2 separate regions of the Homo sapiens genome follow, and region 1 is linked to region 2. Evidence: promoter capture Hi-C in 16 types of primary human blood cells and fetal thymus (Javierre and others, 2016). All regions are on one chromosome and are shown on one strand. The core of a region is centred on a gene start or on the middle of the fragment in contact, and the rest is flanking DNA. Distances in the headings are between cores, read along the strand shown.

Region 1 (6,239 bases), core at 1,478-3,977, 130 kb before region 2:
AGATTGATACATCAAATAGCTTTTTAGATCAGTTTTGAATAAAAATGCCTTCCACCTGGTAATCACCTTGACACAAGGCAAATTTCTAAAATAACTGTGTTTCTCACTTTCATGAATTCTCAATATCTCACCCAAACACAACAGGCCCAACAGGATCTTCTTGAACAAGCTGGCGTGTGTTTTGCAGAAACTTCTTGCTTTGCTGAAAGGCCACCGACTCCTCCTAATAAGAACCCAAAAGTTAAGATACAAGAATTACTCCATCCCATTTCTATTAATTCAACTCTCAGAATTCAGATTACCTAACACAAGGCAGAATTAGCTCTTAGTCAATGAAGAATATTCTTCAGCCAGGAGGAAGTTAGGTAGTGTCCTGCAATGCCAAAAAGGGCAAATCAAACCTTGCTGGTGGGCAGCAGGTCAGAATACCCTACTCAGCCCGAACTAGCAATATCCTTGGTAGTCTCCTACCATAGAAGTGGGTACTGCTCATGTCAGGGGTCTACTACTTTCCTTTCCCATTCTGAAAGGACAGAGGATTGCTAAGCTTCCATATTCACAAGAGGGCCTGTTCTTCTTAGAGGCAATTTGGCCATCCCTCCCTAAAAACCAAACAAACCTATGGCCTTGAACAGTCAGCCAAATGTGCATTGACAGACAGGAAGGAAAATGCTACCAACCTCAAGAATTGCTCTGGATGTGCAGGCCTGAGAGAAGAGGCCCAGCAAGTAGGGATATTCAAGTTTGATTTAACAAACATGTATATAGTGCTTTCTCTATGCTGAGCTCTTTCTAAGAACTTAGCAAATACTAACTCATTGACTCCTCTTAAGACCCCTGGAGCTGTTACTATTAGCATTCCCATTTTACAGTATGGAAACTGAAAAACAGAAGTTAAATAACTTTCCCAAAGTCATACAGGCTGTAAGGAGCGAACACAGAATATACACTCTGGCTTCAGCATCTGAGCTCTTAACCATCATTCTATGCCACATCTTCCCTAGATTCCAGGGTTGCCTGTCTTTTCCACTCCTAAGTATGCTCAGCATGCTGCAGCCATCTGAGCCAAAAGCTCTAATTTCCAAAATCTTGGGAGCTCCAGAGAAGGTGATCCCAGCAAGAAGGTCCCAGTCTGGCAGTCATGCTGAGGCAGGGCAGCTTAGCCAGGGTTAGGACCAGCCATTAACTCCTAATGCCCTGGGGCTTTGGCCCATGGAGTTCCATGGCTGCCCCTCCCATCTAACACACTCCCAGTTCCTAGTCTTCCTTTTCATTCCTGCCCCCATCCCCTCCTGTCCCTTCTGCAGGAAGCCCAACCCTGTGTTAGCTGAGCAGAGTGTGTACTATGAGATACAGGTAAGCTGAGAAAGGAGGAAACAATGCTTATCACCATCTGACTGGATCAACTCAAGATGATTCTTTAGGATCTCAAGAACTCTGCTTTGCTTTGCTTTGCTTTTCTTCTCTTTAAGAGACAAGGTCTCACTTTGTTGCCCAGGCTAGAGTGCAGTGGTATGGCATGATCATGGCTCACTGCAACCTTGAACTCCCAGGCTCAAGTGACCCTCCTGCCTCAGCCTTCTGAGTAGCTAGGACTACAGGTGTGCACCACCACGCCCAGCTAATTTTCTTTTTTAAATTTTTGTAGAGATGAGGTCTTGCTATGTTCCCCAGGCTGGTCTCAAACTCCTGGGCTCAAGTGATCCTTCCTCATTTTTCCATGCTTAATAGAGAAAGTAGTGAGTAAAAGGGCCAGCATACCTGAGGACATCATTATCTTTGGAACATCATTTGCAAAGTATATCAAGGAATGAATTTAATTTCAATCCTGGCCTTCCCATGTGTGCCAGATATCTTTGGTGTGCTCCTCCAGCACCACTCTCCACTCCACTCTGTGCCCTGGGAATTTAACTCATGTAAACTACATCAATGTACTCCCATGTCCTCTGGCTTATCAGGTTGGGTTCTGCTACTGGGACCTCCACAGATGATCAGAGTGTATGAAAAGACAGGTCAGTGTGTTGAGGAGGTCTTTTTATCTGACTCTCCTGCCAGGTGCTCTTACATCTTATTCCTTCAGGCCTACGAATAGTAACTGTTCACTGCTTCAAGACTTTTGCTTCTTGCATTATCCTTTCTTATGGTGTCACCATACCTCATACATATCTTTGTAATGGTCTCTTTGTAAATAAATTCTCCTATAATTATCTTAATTTAAGTATGCCATCTGTTTCCTGTTGGGACCTAAACCGATGTACTAGATAAAGCTAGTTTAAAATTATATGCAGTCAAATGCCAGTTGAGTAAGCCTCCTGCAAAGTAAGAGGCAGGCTGGACTAGTCCAAGAGTAGATACAAATTGCATGCCTAGAAAAGATTTCTTCCATCACCTCCTGACCACAACTCACTTACCATATAGCACTTACCATATAGCATGATATTGTCATTTTTCTGTTTACCTGTCTTTATTAGGTTTTGAGCATATCAGGGAAAGGAGCATTTCTGTTTTTATCTTTGTATTCTTGGTGCCTAAATTAGTACCTAGCACATACTATTATTGCTTTAGGTCGCTAACAAGTGCCCGGCCCATAATAGATGTTCAATAAGTGTTTGCTGAATAAAAGAATAGGTAGATAGATAAACTCATAAAAATGATTTGCCTATATACTTGTGACAGATAGCTAGAAAGTATGAAAGTATCATTTACAGTGGTAGCAACATCATTCAGGGTATTAATTTTGTACTTCTTTTTAAAATTGACAAAAATTGGCTGGGTGCAGTGGCTCACACCTGTAATCCTAGCACTTTGGGAGGCCAAGGAGGGAGGATCACTTGAGCCCAATAGTTCAAGATTAGCATGGGCAATATTGTGAGACCCCATCTCTAAAAAAAATTTAAAATAAAATTGACAAAAATTGTATATGTTTATGGTATACAACATGATGGCTTAAAATATATATAAATTGTGGAATGGCTACATCAAGCTAATTAACACATGTATTACCTTACATACTAGTTTTTTTAATGGCAAGTGCTTAAAATGTACTCTTGTTTGTATTTCATCATTTATAAAATGTACTACTATTTTTATACACTAAGAAAGAAAAACACTGCCAATTAAAGACCTGAACAGGCACTTCACAAAAGAGAATATTCAGTGGCCAGAAAAAGCCGAAAAGATGCACAAGTTCCTTAGCCATTAGGGAAATACAAACCAAAGCTACAATGTGATAATACTACACACATACAATGGAGACAATGAAAAAAGACATGCTCTCATAACACTGCCAGGGGAGTGAAATTTGCTAAAAATATGTTTAGCATCTGTTAAAGCTACATAAACCTACACATACCCTATAGCATGGCAATTCCACTCCAAAGTATATACCCAGTAGAAAGGTGTATTTATCTTTACTAAAAGACATGCACAAAAATGTTCATAGCTGCACTATGATAGCAAAAGCATAGAAACTACTAAAATTCAGACCCACAGTAAAATGAGCAGATAAACTGTGGTAGATTCTTACAATGAAATACTATACAGCAATTAAAAATGTACAAAGTACAATATATGCAATAATATGGAAGAATCTCCAAAGCACAATGTAAAGCAAAAGAAGCAAAAGTATATATATGGTATATTTTCATTTAAAGTATAAATTAGACTTCCCATATAAAGTCCAAACACAGGCAAAATTAATCTATGATGCTAAAAGTCAGGATAATGATTACCCTTAGGGAGGCTGACTGAAAGGAAACATAAAATGGTTCTTGGGTACAGATAATGTTTTGGTTCTTCATCTGGTCGATGGTCATATGGTTGTATTCACTTTGTGAAAATTCATTAAGGCTTATGTTTATTTTTCTGTATGCATGCTATGCTTTATTAAACATTACACTAAAAAGGCAAAAAAAACTGTACCAGTTAAACTATGGCATGCAGTCCCAAAAACATAAATTAAGAATAATAATAATAAAATAAAATTTGACAAAAAAAATATATAGTATATATATTTTTGAGACGGAGTCTCACTGTTGCCCAGGCTGGAGTGCAATGACATGATCTTGGCTCATTGCAACCTCCGCCTCCCAGGTTCAAGAAATTCTCCTGCCTCAGCCTCCCGAGTAGCTAGGAGAACAGGTGCCCACCACCATGCCCACATATTTTTGTATTTTTAGTAGAGACTAGGTTTCACCATGTTGGCCAGGCTGGTCTCAAACTTCTGACCTCAAGTGATCTGCCTGCCTTGGCCTCCCAAAATGCTGGGATTACAGGCATGAGCCACCATGCCCAGCCCCAAGGAATATTTTTTAAAGGAAAAACTAATGCAAATACATGAGCCATCAAGTTTTAATGTACATTGTAAACAATGATATCGTGTTAAGTACTCAGAACTGTGTCAGTGAAACAAAAGATTTAAAAATAAATCCAAATCATCACATTAACTTAATAAAGTCGAAGCAACATCAGAATAGAGAAAGAACTCACAATTTAATAACTTGCTAGAAAAGTGGGTATCAGTATGGAAAAGCATCAGCTTAAAGCTACATGTCAGATTACTCCCTACAAAGCACCCCAGATCATCAGAGTTAATCAAACAAAAGAACAAGAAGAAAAAGAAATAAATACTTAAAAATCAATACAGAAACAAAACAGAATTGAAAAATGTACACATGAAGAAATTACAAAGTCTGTTATCTAGATTATATACATAACTTATTAACATGTATTTATTGAATTTTGAATGTTATGGCATTTTAAGTATAAACTATGGGTAAAGCATTGTTTCCAGTGTTATAGGAGACAAAAGGATGAAATAGACATTGATCTTGCCCTCAATGTATTTACAGTCCAGTATAGGGGATATAATATACATGTAAGTCTATAACAAAATGTCAAAAGCTTAAAGTGTTATAAGAGAGGGTCAGATAGAATGTTATGGAAGTTTGGAGAAAGAAGGGACCTTTTAGTACTGGGGCCAGTGAGGTTGAGGGGAGGAGAGGCAGCATCAGGGAAAGTTTCATGGACATGATTGCTCTTGAGTTGAGCCTTAAAATATGTGTTGTATTTGGGCACAAAGACAAAAAATGAAGACAGTACACTCATAAGCAATGATGTAATGACATGCATGACATGGAGGCAGGAAACTGGGGATTACATATAAGGAACAGTTGATAGTTGACTTTCACTAGAGCATAGGGTGGCATTAGAAAGGGAATTGCAAGAGTTAATGTTGGAAAGTCAAGTTGGATACAGATCCTGGTTGTGGGGAAGAGGTTTTGGGGAGAATTGAATACCAGGCTGTGGAGTTTGGCTTTGTTCAGGAGCAACTGGAGAGCTACAGAGGTTTGTGATATAAGGGAGTTCAGACATACTTTAGGTAGTTTTGGTAGAAGCTATATAGGATAGATTGGCAGGAGGTGGGGAGAACTGGAAACAAGAAATCTATGTGGGTTCTATTAGAGTTGGTCAGGAGAAAGGAAATGAGGTTCAAAATCCAGAACTTACTTTAGTTGATAAAGAAAAGTAGGCCGGCCACAGTGGTTCACGCCTATAATCCCAGCACTTTGGGAGGCTGAGGTGGGCAGATCACCTGAGGTCAGGAGTTCAAGACCAGCCTGGCCAAGATGGTGAAACACCATCTCTACTAAAAATACAAAAAAAAAATTAGCTGGGTGTGGTAGCACGTGTAATCCCAGCTACTCGGGAGGCTGAGACAGGAGAATCGCTTGAACCCGGGAGGTGGAGGTTGCAGTGATCACACCACTGCACTCCAGCCTGGATGACAGAGTGAGACTCCGTTTCCAAAAAAAAAGAAAAGAAAATCACACGTAGAAATATGGAAAGTAAGGCAAATGGAGGAAAATGTGTAGCTTTACAAAAATTTAAAGAAATGCAAGTTAAGGTCAGGCACATGGCTCACACCTGTAATCTCAGCACTTTGGGAGGCTGAGACATGAGGATTGTTTGGGCCCAGCAATTCAAGACCAGCCTGGGTAATGAAGTAAGACCTCATTTCTCAAAAAATAAAAATAAATGCAAGTTAGAACTTTAAGGCATGATTTTATATCTATGTAACTAGTTAACATGGTTTATATGAGAAAATATAAGGTCGATAAGACTTGAAGGGAACTGGACATGTTATATATCAGAGCAGTTTAAGGTGCCAACAACAGTCTGGCAAAAAAAAATTACCAAGATCCTTTCAGCTAAGTACTAATATTATTCTTGTTTTACAG
Region 2 (6,386 bases), core at 3,212-5,711:
GCTTCCTTCCCCAGAGGTTGAAGTTCTCACCAAAGAAGACCCCCAACACTGTGCGGTTTCTCAGGGAGGCCAGCCCTGCAGGGCCCCTTGAGATGGTGTTGCTAAGGTCTCGGGGGTTGGGCAGGTGGGGTTCTCCCAAGGGCTGGTACACGCCATCTGCATAGCTGGCTGGGACCAGGCGCTGCAGCCGGGAGCCTGGGGTAGGAGGGGTAAGGATAAGGATGAATCTTCAGGGGGCATTCTTGACCCCCTCTCTCCCAGGCTTTCCTCCATGTCATGGATCCTAAAACCTTGGAAATGGATGGCCTTTGCTGGTACTTGCCAGCTCTTGCCCCGCAGCACTCAGTACCCCCCTGGCCCTGGGGTTCTATCCCCACTTGGCTCTCACTTACCTTTGCTGCCCCATCTGTGCTCCATGAGGTTGTTGTACCACCCATCAAATCGCTGCACCTCCCACGAAATGGGGTTCTGAGCTCCTGTGTGAGAATGGAGGGAAGGGGCAGCTGGGCAAGTCAGTGCGTGAGAGGACAGGCAGGCCTGCCGGATATGGGTGCTGTGAGCCTGGCACTTGGAGCAGCAGAAAGTGGATACCTGAAGTGGATGTGAGAGGTAGGGTGCAGAGGGAAAAACCAGGGCAAAGTAGTGTCCAAACTCAAGCCAGATCTTTAAGCTGCTCAGTGGGGGAGACATGGCAGGGAGCCAAAAAGCAGTGGAGCAGGGAGCAGAGTGTGCTGACAGACGGCCTCAGAGAGGGAGAGGGGGCTGGAGGAGAGCAGTGGTGATGGGGAATAGGATGCAGGGGACTTTACTCCCCTTAAACTTCAGCTCCCTGAGGGGACACAACAGGACAGAATCCATCCCCAGCCCTAAGACACCACACAGAGCAAGAGCCAGCCACACTCCATACCGGAGAAGGACATGTCATTCTGTGACCCATCCCTGGGCAGGGTCGGTGTGGTGAGGGGACTAGTCATCTCTGGCTGAGCAGAGCCCAGGGCAAGGGTGTGGTGTTGCTACTGCTTTTTTCCCCAGTTTCTTGGGTAGGACCAGGGACTGGACTGGTGATGTGGATGACTTTGCCCTTTTTCTGGGGCATCTTGTCCCCCATACAATTCCTCCTCTTGATCCTGTTGTATTCTCCAAAATGAGGGTCCAGGAGGGAGCACTCAGCTGCTGGGGAAAGAACTGAGGAATGAGGGACAGAGGGAAGATCCAGAATGGATAATGGAATCAGGGATGGAGCAGGGATCTTTCTGATCAGTAGAGCAGATAGCTGGCCTGATTCTTTCCCCCAAACTAGGAGTCTATAGGCCTGGGGCTTCTTCTCTGCTCACTTCAGAGAACAGACGCACACATTCACACTCACTCAGCAGAGAGTCAGGGGGGAAAATGACTCAGGGCCTGATGTTTGAGCAAAGAACCCAGCTAAGGTTCAAGACTTTGGGCAGGGCCACACATGTGATCTCTAAAATAAAATGAACCTGTGGCACATAAAGGAGAGAGCCTTTGCAGGACAGTACAGGGAAAGCGCCTCTTGGGGATAAGAGGTGAGAGCTGAGGGAAAAAAGGGAAATCCAAAGCTAGGGAAAGAAGAGGGCTGGAAGGAACGTGGATGTGAGTAGCTCTGGCAAGGGAGAAGTTGTAGGGAAGGTGTCACCATCCTGTCACCTCCAGCCAGGACAGATCCTTCTACAGGTTTTCTCTGCTTTCTGCTTTTGCATCTCCCATCCCCAGTGATCAGGGACTTGATCTTTTAACTTTAACTGTGGCACTGTAGGCCCACTTCCCTCCACAGAGATCCGGACTGCAGAGAGCAGCCTCAGATTCCAGCAAGAAACTGTCTACTGAAGGCAGCAACATGAAACTCTTATGGAAGATATTGCTTTTGTTTTTCATCATAATGTTTAAACATATTGATGACTCCCCTTCAGCTTTGGGTCCAATCTGACCCCAAGATCCTTTATTGTCTTATGTGTCTAATCAATCTTTTCCTATTTTGAGTCAGAGGCCCTCACTTTATGGAAAACAAGAGAAGAGAGAGGAGAGAGAAAGGGCCCCCAAACTGTAAGAATAAAAGAGAAAGTGCTGACAGCAGCTGAAGGCTCCCTAATTCTGTGTATTTGGGGATAATTTTCATTCCATTATCCATCTATTTCTTCAACAGCTAGAAATGAGCAACTCTCATGTGCAGGGCACTGTGTCAGCTAGAGACTAAAGATACAGATGAATATCAAATGGATCCTGTCCTTGGGGGAGCCCAGAGGATGCTGGGTTCCTCTGCTCCTAACCATGCTTCTCCTCCAATCTGTACTCACCCAGAGGGGTCCATGCCCCAACCAGAAGTGTCCATGCTAGAGCCAGGCAGAAGCCCATGATGAAAATAATAGGGGCTCAGGGATTAGAATGTCCCAAAATGGAGACCCTAGAAAAAGACAGGCAAAGAATGAGCCCCAGCTACTCAGAAGAATCAGGTGAAAGACTCTGCAGGCCTCTGTGAATCAAGGCCTGGGGCTGGGCCAAGGTCACAGTAGGTAGCAAAGTTCAAGAGACTCACTCTTTCCGAAAATTCTTTAATTGATTCGGCAAATACTTCATGAGCACCACTACATACCAGCCACTGACATAGACACTGGAGATTAAGTGACGAACAAAACAAACAGAAATCCCTGGTACATACCTTCATGGACTTTACCTTCTAAGATTAGTTGGAAAACCCTGCTTTGGCCCAGCACTCTGCAGAGTGTGTTCCTTAGGCAGGGCCCTGCTTGGGGATCAGGAGACTAGGCTGAGGTCTCAGTGCTGCTCCCAGTCCACTGTGGGATCTTAGATAAATCACTTCTCCAATCTGATCCTTGTTTTCCTCTTCCAGCTATGGGAGCAAATATGCCTGAACTGTTTACTTCTAAGCATGGTTGCCAGAATCAAATGTGAGAAGGAGGTTTAATTCAAAGCAAGTGACAGGTGTTGGGCAAATGTGATATAGAGAGGGTAGGCGGGAGCTTGTCTCCTCTGGTTGGATCCAGAAGGGATGCACTACCAGGTGCTCATGTATTTAGTGCAAGCTTCCTGCTCTCTCTCTCTCCACCCAGAGTCAACAGGGAAACAGAGGCAGCAGAGGACTCAGGCTGGGACTCCTGAGTGCGAGTAAGGAGTACCTAAAGCCGGCGAAGACCTCCTGAAGGCAACCTGGAGATTGGGGTTAGGATAGAGGAAGAAAGGAGCTCAGGGAAAGCCTCATCCCCAGCCAAACATCAGGGTTCCTGGATGGGTTGTCTAGAGGAGAGAACCCAGGGAGTGACCTCATCCCTACTCCATCTCCTATTAAATGAAAAAACCTAGGCCCTGCCATAACTGGAAAGCTCAGTATCACCTGCTGCATTTCACAGAGTCTGTCCAGGTGCTGGCCTTTAATAGTGCATGAAGAGCTGGGCTCTGGATGGTTGAAGCTGTAAAGCTGGATATACGGAAGTAGCCACAGCGGTCCTTCCCTGATCCCAAGATGTCATTCCCCTCCCCCGCCACCACCATGTCTTCAGGATCCTGGGCCTCAACGCTAATGTACCACTCAGCCCCTAAGGGCATGAAATGGGCTTTCAGACCAGGCTGTGTGGGGATGACCTGAAGAGGAAGGTGGACATGCTTAATAACCACTCCTTGTGGGTGGGTTGCCCTTAATGATTTACACAACGATGGGGCAGTAACTTCTCAACAACCTTGACAGGAAGGTTGCCCAGGACAGGGCAGTGAAGCCCCAGGCAGAGCCAGCGGCAGAACCAGAGAGAGAACACAGGCCTGCCTGTTCTTGCCCCACATGGCTGCTTTTCCAGCCTGAAGCCCTAGAGTGGTGACCCTGGTGGCCCTGAGGTGGGAGGAAGATGGGTCAAGGCCATCTTGGTCCTAAGGGAGGGCTGAGGGGGAAAGCTTGGATCCTAAAGCCCAAAGCTCCCTCCCTGGTATGTTGTGCTGGTGCCAGGAGAAGAACCCGCAGGCCCAGGCAAACTAGGCCACCCAACATTCCCAGGTCCCAAAGAACCCAGTCTCTCAAAACCTTGATTGGGCAGAGGACAGGCCCTAACAGGACCGGTTTTAGCCTTAGGATAAGATCGGAGGCGCAGGGGGCTAGCATTCCCCTTTCTTCCATAACGTGGAGGAGCTGCGGCTCCCCCGCCACCCTGCCCTTGGAGCTCCCTCCCCCGGAGCGCCCAGGCCCGCGGGCCGGGAAAAGCCCTCCCAAATCTGACCTGCGGCCACGGCGTCACCAGAGCCCGGGACTGCAACTTGTCTCCGGCCTGGCTGCCAGCTGGGCCCGCGGAGCCCTCTCTCGTCCGGTGCCTCTGCAGCTCTGCGCCGGGACGGGCGGGGCTGGGGGTGAGGAGGGGAAGGCACGGCCCGGCTCGGCTCAGCCACGGGGCGGGGCGCAGTGGGGCGGGATGGAGTCTGGCGCCTGGGGAGGCGCGGAGGTGCTTCCAGCGGACGGCAGCGCGCGAGGTGAGACGGCGAGGGCTCCCGGGGCGCAGGTAGAGATGTTCCGTCGGTGCCGAAGGCCCGGCTAGTGCGGTTGTGTGGACGGCGAAAAAAGCAAGTCCGCCTTCACAAGTCCCATGGGGCTGGGGAGAGGGTGGGAGGCGGAGAGGGTATGGGGAGGGGAGACTCTCCTCAGATCCTCTCGACACCGTCGGGTCTGGGCTCCAAGTCCAAGGCCATCGATCACCTGCCACCCACAGACCAGGCCAGGCGTCAAAGCAAGTCACCCATCCGACCTAAACCCCTCTAAGACCCCGGAGTCACGTCTCCCTCCGGGGATCCTCGTGAGGTCTTGGGGGTCCCACCGCCCTGCGAGCCGCGCCCGCGCCCCGCCAGACCCGGAACTGCGTCGCTAGGTTTGCGCTGGAGCTGCTGGGATTGCTGGGCATGGGTGGGGGGGCGCAGAGGAGGAGGGGGGATTGGAGGGACCTCTGCGGAGCTGGCAGACCCCGGTACTACTGTCCTGGCGCACCCAGCCCTTCTCTGTACCAGGCCGGGAGAGGGAGGCGGCGCCGCAGAGCCTCGGGTGCAGTCTGAGAAGTTTGGGAGTGACTTGAAGAGTGACTGGAAGCACCCCAGACCCGGTTTGTCCGGTCACAGCCGGGTCCTTACGTGAGTTAGGAGAGGAGTGGGGGTCGGACGGGAGCCCCACTGAGAGTAAGGGCGCGCGTTTGTTCACAGAACGTCGGGACCTGGTTCCCTCTTTAATCACACCCCCGGGGGCGCTTCGTGTGAGGTTCCACGGGGGAAGGCGAGAGGCGCAGGCTGCCACACACGCACTGTTTGGAAGAGGGGAAGGTAGGGAATAGTGGTCCGGGTGTGGGTGGTGGGGGATGCGGCTGCTTAGATCTGTGCGGTCCAGGTGATTTTGGAGGGGGTCTTGAAGTGCTTGCTCCCGCCCTGGCACCTAGGGCTGCACTTCCTGCTTTCATCCAGACCAAGTTCGGATCAAGTGGGAGTTCTTCAAAGAGAGAGTTTGGTAAGAAACTGGGGAGGCAAGGAAAACCTCTTAAGGCCATAAATGCCACAAGGTTTATAGACATCGAATCGCCATCCCAGTTTAACTCGAGTCTGGATACTTTGGCTTGCATGATTCTGCACCCTTGAATTCCTTATCCACATCAGCCCTTACTGGGGAATCCTGCCTCCAATCCACTTTTCAGATCTTGTTCAATTTCTCCACTTAACTCCTATTTTTGTGCAACAACACACATATACATTCATACACAGATACACACGTACACACAGACCCCTTCCTTGAAGAGGAAAGTCTAGCACAGGAGTTCCTGACAGGGTCCCCTTAGCTAGCCACAGCTGTAAACGTTTAATGGGGTCTACCCCAATCAGAGAAAAAAGCATCACATTGCAGTAGCTGTGCATTACCAATCAGAGGTCTTGGCAACTCCAGCCATGTCACCCACTCCCCACTTGTGGAGAATTAGTGGCCCTTACTCTATAGTTTCCAGCAGATGGGGGAGGTGGGCAAGGGGGAAGACTTCAGGAAAAAAGTCCTGTCAGGCTACAAGAGAGGCCACAAGACGTTAGCACATAACTTTGAATGAAGAAGGCTGGAGGTTGTTCTAGGCTGAATTTTCTTAAAGATTGTAACTTTATGTTTTACCCACCTCTCATACACACATAGGAACTCCACTTCAACCTGTGGTAGGTAAGGATTGGGTAATTGTGTCTATAATAAGATTGAGCATAAGGAAAGTCTTCAGTACATAAGGGAGCCTGGAAAGGGAGGATGCTGCCTCCTCCTCCCTAGGCCAGGTGAGAAAGGAGGACCCTAAAGTGTGGGAAACTCCCCCCACCCCATGAGAAAGCATCCCAATTTTGTCACAGGGGCCTGGGATGAAGTC

Evidence for each region. The method cuts DNA at HindIII sites, captures the fragments that hold promoters and counts their contacts. A CHiCAGO score of 5 or more calls a contact.
Region 1: a contact is called between a fragment that was not itself captured here and the fragment with the promoter of DUOXA1 in region 2, in 1 of 17 cell types (naive B cells). The highest score is 5.4, in naive B cells.

What each region holds. Positions count from the first base shown.
Region 1 is chr15:45,255,999-45,262,237 of GRCh38, reverse strand. It overlaps SLC28A2 (solute carrier family 28 member 2), which reads right to left. Exons shown (of 18, transcript NM_004212.4): 4 at 132-223. The region is part of intron 1 of SLC28A2-AS1 (SLC28A2 antisense RNA 1); the gene reads left to right. Among named protein-coding and RNA genes, the nearest start is that of SLC28A2, 6.9 kb to the right of the region's middle. The HindIII fragment of the contact is 4,355 bases long and covers 550-4,904 here.
Region 2 is chr15:45,127,954-45,134,339 of GRCh38, reverse strand. DUOXA1 (dual oxidase maturation factor 1) reads left to right here and starts at 4,461. Exons shown (of 9, transcript NM_001276266.2): 1 at 4,461-4,488; 2 at 4,725-4,880; 3 at 5,206-5,322. DUOX1 (dual oxidase 1) reads right to left here and starts at 4,346. Exons shown (of 34, transcript NM_175940.3): 1 at 4,242-4,346; 2 at 2,316-2,422; 3 at 393-476; 4 at 31-195. The coding sequence starts at 2,373. The HindIII fragment of the contact is 6,225 bases long and covers 3,924-6,386 here.